Regions from separate parts of the Homo sapiens genome. Here region 2 is linked to region 1. Evidence: promoter capture Hi-C in 16 types of primary human blood cells and fetal thymus (Javierre and others, 2016). All regions are on one chromosome and are shown on one strand. Each heading gives the region's core, a stretch centred on a gene start or on the middle of the fragment in contact. The rest is flanking DNA. Distances are from core to core; before and after follow the strand shown. Region 1 holds the start of SKA3 (spindle and kinetochore associated complex subunit 3). Region 2 holds the start of LOC124903269 (small nucleolar RNA U13).

Region 1 (6,370 bases), core at 2,172-4,671:
TTATAAAATGAGCATACCTGCACAACTGGCCCTCAGCTCAAGAAAAAGGAGAAACAGAGCCTTAGTAGAACTCTAGAAGCCCTCTTATAGTCTCTCCCTTCCCCACAAGGGTAAACTTTAGCCTGATTTCTTTTTCTTTTTTTGAGATGGAGTTTCGCTCTTGTTGCCCAGGCTGGAGTGCAATGGTGCGATCTTGGCTCACTGCAACCTTCACCTCCCGGATTCAAGCGATTCTCCTGTCTCAGTCTCCCAAGTAGCTGGGACTACAGGTGTGCGCCACTACATCTGGCTAGTTTTATATTTTTAATAGAGATGGGGGTTTCACCATGTTGGTGAGGCTGGTCTTGAACTCCTGACCTCAAGTGATCCACCCGCCTCGGCCTCTCAAAGTGTTGGGATTATAGGCGTGAGCCACTGCACCCAGCCACCTTACCCTGATTTCTAACGCCATGAAGTAGTTTTGTCACTTATGAACTTGATTTAATGGACTCAAACAATATGTACTCTTTTGCGACTGGCTTCTTTCACTCAACTGTTACATTCTTCCACGTTCGTAATCTAATCCATGTTCATTATTGTGTAGCATTTCCACTGCGTGATACCATATTTATTTATTCTATTGTTGAAACACTTTGGATTGTGCCTAGTTTGGAATTATTATGAATACTCTTGCTTTGAACTTCCTAGAACATGTCTTTGGTACCAACGTATTCATATTTCTGTATGTTAAGAGACTCAGAAAAAGTGCTGGATTATATGTTATGCATATGCTCAACTTCAGTAAATACTGCTAGTTTTCCAACATGATTTTTACAGTTCACACTCCCACCAGCAGTGCATAAGAAGTGCATTTGTTCCTGCTCATCATCACTGGCCATCAGAGAAATGCAAATCAAAACCACAATGAGATACCATCTCACACCAGTTAGAATGGCAATCATTAAAAAGTCAGGAAAAAACAGGTGCTGGAGAGGATGTGGAGAAATAGGAACACTTTTACACTGTTGGTAGGACTGTAAACTAGTTCAACCATTGTGGAAGACAGTGTGGCAATTCCTCAAGGATCTAGAACTAAAAATACCATTTGACCCAGCCATCCCATCACTGGGTATATACCCAAAGGATTATAAATCATGCTGCTATAAAGACACATGCACACTTATGTTTATTGCCGCACTATTCACAATAGCAAAGACTTGGAACCAACCCAAATGTCCATCAATGATAGACTGGATTAAGAAAATGTGACACATATACACCATGTGCAGCCATAAAAAAGGATAAGTTCATGTCCTATGTAGGGACATGGATGAATCTGGAAACCATCATTCTCAGCAAACTATTGCAAGGACAAAAAACCAAACACCGCATGTTCTCACTCATAGGTGGGAATTGAACAATGAGAACACTTGGACACAGGAAGGGGAACATCACACACTTGGGCCTGTCATGGGGTGAGGGAAGGGGGGAGGGATAGCATTAGGAGATATACCTAATGTAAATGACGAGATAATGGGTACAGCACACCAACATGGTGCATGTATACATATGTAAGAAACCTGCACGTTGTGCACATGTACCCTAGAACTTAAAAGTATAATAATTTTAAAAAAAGAAAAAAAAAGTGCGTACTGCTCCAACAACAACAACAACAACAACAAAAAGCGCATTTGTTCCACATCTTTCCAAACACTTGGTAATTTTCTCTTTTTCGTTTTAGCTATCCTGCTGGGTATGCAACTGTACTACATTGAGATTTAATTTGCATTTCCTTGATGACTAATGAAATTTGCATTTCCTTGATGACTAATGAAATTGATGTCTTTTCACATTCCTGATGACCATCTGAAGATAGTTTTTTCTTTCTTAGATGGAGTCTAAGATCGCTCAGGCTGGAGTGCAGTGGCGCGATCTCGGGTCACTGCAACCTCCGCTTCCAGGGTTCAAGCGATTCTCCCACCTCAGCCTCCGAGTAGCTGGGATTACAGGCGCCCACTACTATGCCCAGCTAATTGTTTTGTATTTTTAGTAGAGACGAGGTTTCACCACGTTGGCCAGGCTGGTCTTGAACTCCTGACCTCGGGCGATCCACCCACCTCGGCCTCCCAAAATGCTGGGATTACAGGCGTGTGCCACCGTGCACGGCCAAATCTTTTTTTCTTTTTGAGACGGACTCTTGCTCTGTCGCCGAGGCTGGAGTGCAGTGGCGGATCTCGGCTCACTGCAAGTTCCGCCTCCCGGGTTCACGCCATTCTCCTACCTCAGCCTCCCGAGTAGCTGGGACTACCGGCGCCCGCCACCACGCCCGGCTAATTTTTTGTATTTTTAGTAGAGACGGGGTTTCACCGTGTTAGCCAGAATGGTCTCGATCTCCTGACCTTGTGATCCGCCCGCCTCAGCCTCCCAAAGTGCTAGGATTACAGGCGTGAGCCACCGCGCCGGGCAGAAATAGACATTTTCAAGTGACTGGAGATCATTCATTATATAATTAAAGTAAAAGTAGTCTGCAGGGTGTAATATTTTAAAGCACATTACAATTATGACATTTATGAAATAATTCCAAAATCTGAACTACTTTTTCAACAATTTAAAAAATCTCTAATAAAAAGGGGAATGGTGAATTTTGCTTTATTTATATACACATATTTTTTTAAACCCCAGCACTGTTGAGTACTAGTGTTTGTGTTGGCAACATGGTTTAGCGGGAAAAACACAGAGGTTTACTGCAACTGTGGACCACGTGAGTGAGAAAAAAGTCACTATATGTGTAAAGTATTGTGTAAAGAACGTTAAATAGCTTGATTCTAAGAGAAACTGTTTAGGTTTACATGGTATTTTACTGACAAGCACACATATTGTATGTGACGAAAGCATATCACGTATAAATTAGTATATGTATTATGAGCTCAATCTGTTAATTTAGGTTCTTATTCTTAAGTGCTGCTGTCTCTGTTTATAACGTAATAGTGCTACTTTCATTATCTCAAGAGAGCCGTGGGGTTGTACATGGGTCTAAAACGGACACGCGACAAGGGTTCCTAGGAATAAACCATAAACAGGCCCGGGAGCTACGCTAACGCCAAACGCCGAGCAGTGAGACGCGCAGCACCCGCCCTGCGCCTCGGTGGCAGCCGTCCACGCCGTCAGTGCCTGGCGGTTCCCGTGGGACATACCGTCCACTCGCCACGCCCCTCCGCCCGCGGCGCACCCCACGCACCGTGCCCTGGCCGCCCGCCTCACGCACCGCTTTCCTCTCCGTCCAGCGCTCGCTGCAGCCGGGCCGTCTCGCAGTCCAGCGTGCTGGCCAGAGACCGCAGCTTCCCGCAGAAGCTCCGGATAGGGTCCATGCTGAGCACAGCGGGGAAGGACTCCAGGCGTACGCAGACCCCACCGCTCAGCTCACAGCCTCCCGCCACTAGTTTGAATCTCGGCGCCGGACGCGTCCTCGGCTCTGCGCAGGCGCAGTCCTCTCTCGCGAGAGCCGAAGTCTCTCGCCGAGGCCCCAGGAGACCCCGCGAGACGGGTGCGCTTACGCCACGGCGTCTGCTGGCGGCCGCGGAGACGCAGAGTCTTGAGCAGCGCGGCAGGTGAGTAGCTGTGCGAATTCGGTTCTCTAGGGAGCTCCTTCTTCGCCTGCTGGCCTTACCTGGGCTCCCCGCTTCTCTGGAGGGGAGGCGGTGCGGGAACTCCCGTAGGCGTGAGCTGGAGCGCGCGCCCGCTGCTCTCTCCAGGTCCGGCCGCGCCAGTTCGCCTCCGCAAAGCCCGTCCCTCTCTTCCGCAGGCACCATGTTCCTGACTGCGCTCCTCTGGCGCGGCCGCATTCCCGGCCGTCAGTGGATCGGGAAGCACCGGCGGCCGCGGTTCGTGTCGTTGCGCGCCAAGCAGAACATGATCCGCCGCCTGGAGATCGAGGCGGAGAACCATTACTGGCTGAGCATGCCCTACATGACCCGGGAGCAGGAGCGCGGCCACGCCGCGGTGCGCAGGAGGGAGGCCTTCGAGGCCATAAAGGCGGCCGCCACTTCCAAGTTCCCCCCGCATAGATTCATTGCGGACCAGCTCGACCATCTCAATGTCACCAAGAAATGGTCCTAATCCTGAGTCGTCACCCTTGGATTTTATGGATCACGGAGCTGACCATCTTTACCTGGTCCTGGAACTGAAAAACTGTAGCTTGTGTGAAAATGAGCCTTTGGACCAGTCTTTATTAAAACAAACAAACATGAGTAGTCTGCATATCGAATATCTAGAGCTCTAAACCCCCAATACTTAAAAGTCTAATTGCTGTCCTGTGGTTTCATTAGTCTGATAGGAAGATAGGGATTTCCTCAGTCACAGATGATATTTTGAAGGAAAGCTGCAATAAAGCCACAATGATTTGAGGTCTTTGCTTAAGTATGAGATACTTGATGGGGGCTTTATCATGCAACATTAGTTTGCTTACCTTAAGAATTGCCCAAAAATGAAAGAAAATATGAGCTTTTCAGTTAAACATACTCCTAAAAACATTTTCCGGGATTTTACTACTAAAATTGGACATTTAAGCGAAGTAAAAGAGGCCGGGTGCGGTGGCTCACGCCTGTAATCCCAACACTTTAGGAGTCCAAGGCGGGCGGATCACTTGAGGTCAGGAGTTCAAGACCAGCTTGGCCAAGGTGATAAAACCCGTCTCTACTAATACAAAAAAAATTAGCTGGGTATGTTGGTGCAGGCTTGCAATCCCAGCTACTTGGGACGCTGAGGTGGGAGGATCGCCTGAACCTCAGAGGCAGAGGTTGCAATGAAGCGGAGGTTGCAGTGAGCCGAGAGCATGCCGCTGCACTCCAGCCTGGGAGACTGCATCTCAAAAAAGAAAAATAAACGAAGTAAAAGATATTTATCAGAGCTGTTACAGGAAGGTGTATTTTTTAGCTATTTTGGCAGGGTGCTGTGGTGCTTGCATGTAGTCCCAGCTATTCAGGAATATTGCTTGAGTCCAGCTTGGGCAACATAGCGAGACCCTATCTAAAATAACAATAATATATGGCCAGGCGGGATGGCTCACGCCTGTAATCCCAGCACTTTGGGAGGCTGAGGCGGGCAGATCACTTGAGGCCAGGAGTTCAAGACCAGCCCAACCAACATGGTGAAACCCTGTCTCCACTGAAAATACATAAAATTAGCCGGGTGCAGTGGTGAGGCCTGTAATCCCAGCTACTCAGGAGGCTGAGGCAGGAGAATCGCTTGCACCCAGGAGGTGGAGGCTGCAGTAAGTCGAGATTGTGTCACTGCACTCTAGCCTGGGCGACAGAAAAAGAAAATTTAGGTGGGGAAAAAAATCAGAATTGCGTCTGTGGGAACAGGAATAAAGGAGAAACCACTATTGACTGGGAAGACACACAAAGAACTTTGTCAAAGTTGTATGGCTGAGGCCCACACGGTGGCTCACTTCTGTAATCCCATCACTTTGGGAGGCTTAGGCAGAAGGATCACCTGAGATCAGGAGTTCCAGACCAGCCTGGCCAACATGGCGAAACCCCATCTCTACTAAAAATACAAAAATTAGCCGGGCGTGGTGGCTTACGCCTGTAATCCCAGCACTTTGGGAGGCCAAGGTGGGCGGATCACAAGGTCAGGAGTTCGAGACCAGCCTGGCCAATATGGTGAAACCCCATCTCTACTAAAAATATAAAAATCAGCAAAAAAAATTTAGCCAGGCTTGGTCATGCATGCCTGTAATCCTAGCTACTGGGAAGGCTGAGGAAGGAGAATTGCTTGAACCCAGGTGGTGGAGGTTGCAGTGAGCTGAGATCGTGCCACTGCTCTCCAGCCTGCATGACGGGAGTGAGACACCATCTCAAAAAATACATATAATAATATAAATAAAAATATCTTTTTTGAAAATAATTTAATATACCATGTAATTTACCAGTTGAAGATGTTCGCTTTCAGAATATAATAAAAATAGTCAAAAACTTTGTGTTTCTAAATACATACTGTATATAGTAGTGTAATACAGTACCCTATACAATATGCATTTGGTGACACAGTATACAGCACTCTATACGGTTGGAACTATTTTATATTTGAGGAAACATTTAAGGAACTGTCCACAGTTACAGCCAGTGATGAGATGGACTTGAGATTGAATTGCTGTATAATACAGAAATCTTGGGTGAGTACGGTCAACAATAATTTATTGAACATTTAAAAATAGCTGAGGCCGGGTGTGGTGGCTCACGCCTGTAATCCCAGCACTTTGGGAGGTCTAGGCAGGCGGATCACGAGGTCGGGAGATCGGGACCATCCTGGCCAATATGGTGAAACCCCATCTCTACTAAAAAATAGAAAAACTAGCTGGGCATGGTGGCACATGCCTTTAATTCCAGCT
Region 2 (6,370 bases), core at 1,446-3,945, 210 kb before region 1:
TGTTGACCAGGCTGGTCTCAAACTCCTGACCACAAGTGATCCACCCACCTTGGTCTCCCACAGTGCTGGAATTACAGGTGTGAGCCACCATGCCTGGCCTGAATTTTGAATTTTAATTATTAATAATTGCCATTGAAATTGAAATTGAGACCCACTTCCACTTCCAGGAAAATGGAGTGCGTGTACTGCTCCTTATTTCTCTTGCTAAGTACAACTAAAACTCCTGGATATTACATATAAGACAAACCTCTCACTGAAAGGTGGAGAGAAGGCAGACCATTTAGGAACCTCAGTAGCTAAGGAAGTACATGGTGGAGAGTTTTCCTTCTAGAACACTCTCCACCGTGTAATTTCTTTTTACCTCAATATCCCAGACTTCGAATAGAGAAACTGGAAAATCAGAGATAGCAACAAGCAGACAAAAATGTCCCCATGAAGGACTTTCTCTAGCCAAAGGACGAGGAAAGAGGTAGAGTAGCCAGGCAGCTCTTGGACAATTACTACTGTACTCCAGGCAATCACCACAGAGAAAACTGTGGCTCCACCCAACCTGTGCCAGCAATGACTGAGTGAGGAGTAGGATTCCATCCTTGTAAGGCTACAATGAAGCACCCCGATGTTCCTGCCTAAGTGATGTCAGAGAACTCCTGGTAGGGAGCTGGGATTTTCCTCCCCATTGGCTGGTGATATCTTTCCTGCCCTGTGGGGAGCCTGGACTTCTAGTCTACCCGGTAGCTATGAGATGCCCCTCCCACTCACTGCTAGGGCAGCAGCAGAGGGGGCCTAGGAGAGTCAGGACTTCACTGACCATTGCCCACTGGCAATGAGGCCACCCCATGGGGTGAACACAGCATGGAAAGCAGGCACTCCTACCCTGGCTCAGCATTAACAAGCAGCCTCCCCTGACCCTGAACATCCAAAGAGGCTGAGTGGGGACTTTACCTTCCTAGGGAATAATGAGGCAGCATGTCCACTTTCCCTGCCAAAGCAATGTCAACAAAAGTCAGCTACAACAAAAGATCAAAAATATACAGGTTTCCATCAAGAATCATCCATCACACCAAGAACTAGGAAGATCTCAAAACTAAGTTAAAAAAAAAAACCCAATAGAAGCCAACACTGAGATGATAGAGATGTTAGAATTATCTAAAATTTAAAGTCAGCCATAACAGAAAGACTTTAATGAGCAATTACAAACACTCCTGATACAAAAGATAAAAAGTGCCAGCAAAGAAACAGAAACTAGAAGAAGGAATAAATGGAAATTTTACTTTTTTTTTTTTTTTTGAGAAAGGGTCTCATTTTTGAGAAAGGGTCTCACTCTGTTGCCCAGTCTGGAGTACAGTGGTGCAATCATAGCTCATTGCAGCCTTGAACTCCTGGGCTCAAGCGATCCCCCGTAACCAAGTACCTCAGTTTTAAAAATATATTTTAATCACTCACTTTCTTTGTCTTCCTTCCTTCCCCTCTCATCCCTTCATTCCTTCCCTCTCTACACTCCCCTCTGGCAATGAATGTTTATCTAATTACATTCTTGCTTAAGAAATCCCAGAGGCTAATCTCAAACAAACCAGGCATGAAGCCCCCACTGCAGAATCCTCCCGTTTAGGGGGAGTCATGACAATTAGTCCACCATCACCAGGCTGAAGTCAAGATAACGCCAATCATACCTTTGGACAGGTGATTACCCAAGATAGCCACCAGAACAAGACACACAGGACCCTGCACCCTGCACCATTCCCGCATGTTTCCCATACCAAGTTTCCCTTTGAAAACCCCGTGGTAAATTTTAAAATTTAAGCCGGTACTTTAGAATGCTATTGCCATCTTCTTTGTTTGCTGGCTCTCCAGTTAAAACTGCTTTTCCTCCCACCTACCCCAACTCCTGTATTCTGGCTTCTTCTTGTTTTTTTTTTTTTTTTTAAGGCTTACTCTATCGCGTAGGCTGTAGTGCAGTGATGCCATCTTGGCTCACTGCAACCTCTGCCTCCTGGGTCAAGCAATTCTTGTGCCTCAGCCTCCCAAGTAACTGGGATTACAGGTGCGCACCACCACGCCTGGCAAATGTTTTGTATTTTTGGTAGAGATGGAGTTTCATCATGTTGGCCAGGCTGATCTCGAATTCTTGACCTCAAGTAATCTGCCCGCCTCAGCCTCCCAAAGTACTGGGATTACTGGCATGAGCCACCACGATCGGCTCCAAAAATGGAAACTTTAGAACTAAAAGATTGCTGGGCATGGTGGCTCATGCCTGTAATCCCAGCACTTTGGAGGCTGAGGTGGGCGGATCACCTGAGGTCAGGAGTTCGAGACCAGCCTGATCCAACACGATGAAACCCCAACTCTACTAAAAATAAAAAAAATTAGCCAGTGTGGTGGCATGTGCCTGTAGTCCCAGCTACTTGGGAGGCTGAGACAGGAGAAAAGCTTGAACCCAGGAGGTGGAGGTTGCGGTGAGCTGGGATTGCGCCTTGCATTCCAGCCTGGGCAACAAGAGGGAAACTCCATCTCAAAAAAAAAAAACTAAACTAAACTAAAAAACTAAAAGATACAGTAACTGAAATGAAAAGCTCAGTGAATGGGTTCAAGAGAAGAATAAAAGGGTCCAAGGAAAGAATTAGTGAACTGGAAGCTAGAACAATAGAAATTATCCAATGTAAACAGATGTATCCATTTTTACAGAGAAAAATGGAGGGGAATGTGGAGGTGGGAGAGCCGAAGCGTAAGAATTATAACAAAAGATCTAGTATTTGTATCAGTAGAGTCATAGAAGTAGAGTTCGAAAGGAGAGGTGTGAATGAAAAAGCTCTGGAAATAATGCCTGAAAACTCCCCAAATCCCAAATTTGGCCATAAAAATAAACCTACAGATTCAAGAAGCTGAGTGAACCACAAACAGTAAAAACCCAAATAAATCTAAGCCAAGAATCTCCTAATTCAACTTCTGAAAAGTATGCAAAGAGAAAAGCTTGAAAGCAGCCAGAGAAAACACCTTATCTATCCATAGGGGAAAATCATTAGAATGACTACAGATTCTCTTGAGAAACCACGGAGAGCAGGAGGAAGTGGCACAGCATTTTTCAAGTGCTGAAAGAAAACTATCAATCTAGAATCCTGTAGCCAGTGGAAATACCCTTCAGGAAGGGAGGGGACATGAAGACATTTTCAGGTGAAGGAAACCTAAGAGAATGTCACCAATAGACCTCCCTTAAAAGAACGGCTAAAGGAGGTTCTCTAAAAAGAAAGAAAAAGATAAAAAGAAAAAGCCTTAGCACATCAGGAAGAAAAGAAAGAACATGGTAAGCAAAAATATCAGTTAATATGACAGACCTTCCTTCTCTTGAGTTTTCTTAAATGTTTGATAGTCAAAACAAAAAAATTATGTGTCTGATGTGAACTGAAAAAGAACAACACTGAAAAAGAAAACCATTCGAGTGGTTTTCACTCTGTGACAATAGCCTCCAATCATTTTGTACCTTTTAAGCATGACCATTGGGTTTTCACACTCATATGGGAGGTGCCTCCCTCAAACTTTGTTACATTGGCACATGACTCATCTGATGTGAACTTAGGAAAAAACTCACAATGACCCATATGCACTTCATCCCAGTGTCCAATAAGATTTTTCTTTTCTAAGGTGAATAAGCTCATTTTGTCCATTCAGTGTAGGCTTCTGCTGGAAATGGAAAATTCTCTTACAAAGGAAAAGCTTTTTTTACTGATGGAAAAAGATTTAACAGGATTAATAATATCAGCATAAGGATCACTTGAGCCCAGGAGTTCAAGACCAGCCTGGGCAACATAGGGAGTCCCTGTATCTACAAAAAAAAAAAAAAAAAAAAAAATATATATATATATATATATATATATATATATATATATATATATATATATATATATATGGCGGTGCACACCTGTAGTCCCAGCTACCCAGCTACTTGAGAGGCTGAGGTAGGAGGATCACTTGAGTCCAAGAGGTCAAGGCTGCACTGAGCCATGTTCATGCTACTGCATTGCAGCCTGGGTGACAGAGCAAGAACCTCTCAAAAAAAAAAAAAAAAAAAAAAAAAAAAACCAGCAGAGTACTACTTACGAATATTGACTTAATATCGAAGATTTTTTTATTATGCTAATTTTTTTTTTTTTAGACGAAGTCTCACTCTGTAGCCCAGGCTGGAGTGCAATGGCACGATTTCAGCTCACTGCAACCTCTGCCTCCAGGGTTCAAGCAATTCTCCTGCCTCAGCCTCCCAAGTAGCTGAGACTACAGGTGTGTGCCACCACACCCAGCTAATTTTTGTATTTTAGTAGAGACTGGGTTTCACCATATTGGCCAGTCTGGTCTTGAACTCCTGACCTTAGGCGATCCACCTGCCTTGGCCTCCCAAAATGCTGGGATTACAGGTGTGAGCCAACACGCCTGGCCTAATTTTTGTATTTTTAGTAGAGATGGGGTTTCCCCATATTGCCCAGACTGGTCTCGAACACCTGGGTTCAGGCGATCCGCCTGCCTCAGCCCCACAAAGTGCTGGGATTACAGGCATGACACATGGTGCCTGGCCTTCCCTACTTTTACAAGGCAATAAGTTAGCCTGTTCTTTAGTGGAGTGGTCCCCAACCTTTTTGGCACCAGGGACCAGTTTTGTGGAAGACAATTTTTCCATGGACGGGGAAGGGATGGTTTCAGGATGAAAGTCTTCCACCTCAGATCATCAGGCATTAGATTCTCATGAGTGCAGAGATCAACCTAGATCCCTCATATGTGCAGTTCACAATAGGGTTTGTGCTTCTATGACAACCTAATGCACTGCTGATCTAACAGGAGGTGGAACTCAGGCAGTCATGCTCACTCACCCACCACTCACCTCTTGCTGTGCAGCCCCATTCCTAACAGGCCATGGACTGGTACCAGTCAGTAGCCTGGGTGTTGGGGACCCCTGCTTTAATGGATGCTGGACTAAGACAAAGATTCCTGGATCAGAGACAAAGGACTTTATTTTTCATAGCACAGCAAGCAGCATGTTTGCATCAGTTTCCCCTTGTTCCCTAGTCCCACCGGGGCAATGTGGAAGACCCAGATGGGTTCTGCTGAGGTATACTAAGCTTGGAGAATCTTTTTGATACCAAGCAGCAAGCAAACTTGCTCTTTGTCTTGGAGAGAGACATCATCTTACCCCTTAAAGCTGCTCACTACAAATCCAATCCTGAGAAATGGCTCAGATAAAGAGCAGTCAGGCCTTGCCTTCTTGGCATATTCAGCAAAGTGTGCACGAGGGAGCTGGGGAGAAACTGCTCACATCTGCACAGGGAAATGTGGCAATAAACCTTGCAAATACACCTTACTTTTGACCTAAGAATTGCACCTCTAGGAATCTGTCCCACATAATTACTTTCACTTACACAAATGATGGTTATAAGAGGTTATTTATTCTAACATTGTTTATAATAGGAAAAGGTCAGAAACAACTAAATGTCTAGCCATATGGGACCAGTTTGATTATAATACCCTCACAATGGAATACTATGCAGTAAGAATAAAAAAATTTCTTTATGTGCTGCTATATAGAGTGCCAAGAAATATTGTCAAGTGAAGAAAACAAATGCAGAAAAATATGCATAATATTCCCTCATTTCTGTAAGAGGCAAAAGGTACACATATATATTTTTTCTTGTACATAAACTTTCATTCCTCTAAGAATGCCCAGTATATTGTTAATAATATCATTTGTTGTCTGTGGGGAGGTGAATTGAATGACTGGAAGTGAAGGAGACTTTTTTTGTATATCACTTTTATATGTTTTGATTTTTTTTTTTTTTTTTTTTTTGAGACAGAGTCTTGCTGTCTCCCAGGCTGGAATGCAGTGGCACAATCTCAGCTCACTGCAACCTCTGCCGCCCGGGTTCAAGCGATTTTCCTGCCTCAGCCTCCTAAGTAGCTGGGATTACAGGTGCACACCACCATGTGCAGCTAATTTTTGTATTTTTAGTAGACATGAGGTTTCACCATTTTGGCCAGGCTGATCTCAAACTCCTGACTTCAGGTGATCTGCCCACTTTAGCATCCCAAAGTGCTGGGATTACAGGTGTGAGCCACCGTGCCCGGCCAGTATGTTTTGATTTCTAAACCATGTGACTGTACCTATTTAAAGTATACAAACTCTTATATTTTCCAGATTTCTAATACCATCAATCTTTATCATCTATCTATCTTCTTTGAGACAGAGTTTGTCTCTTCTTCCCAGGCTGGAGTGCAGTGGCATGATCTCAGCTCACTGTAACCTCCACCTCCTCGGTTCAAGTGATTCTCCTGCCTCAGCCTCCCAAGTAGCTGGGACTACAGGAATACACCACCCACAACCGGTAATTTTTTT

What was found. Contacts are between HindIII fragments. The CHiCAGO score rates a contact against its expected background, and 5 or more counts as called.
Region 2: a fragment that was not itself captured here is called in contact with the fragment with the promoter of SKA3 in region 1 in 1 of 17 cell types (M2 macrophages); the score reaches 5.1 in M2 macrophages.

What each region holds. Positions count from the first base shown.
Region 1 is chr13:21,173,131-21,179,500 of GRCh38, forward strand. SKA3 (spindle and kinetochore associated complex subunit 3) reads right to left here and starts at 3,422. Exons shown (of 9, transcript NM_145061.6): 1 at 3,245-3,422. The coding sequence starts at 3,347. It overlaps MRPL57 (mitochondrial ribosomal protein L57), which reads left to right and starts at 3,528. Exons shown (of 2, transcript NM_024026.5): 1 at 3,528-3,587; 2 at 3,782-5,954. The coding sequence starts at 3,787. The coding sequence ends at 4,095. RefSeq lists enhancers at 1,495-2,217, 2,940-3,662, 3,678-3,997. The HindIII fragment of the contact is 19,534 bases long and covers 1-6,370 here.
Region 2 is chr13:20,965,855-20,972,224 of GRCh38, forward strand. It overlaps LOC124903269 (small nucleolar RNA U13), which reads left to right and starts at 3,464; the gene lies at 3,464-3,562. The HindIII fragment of the contact is 540 bases long and covers 2,426-2,965 here.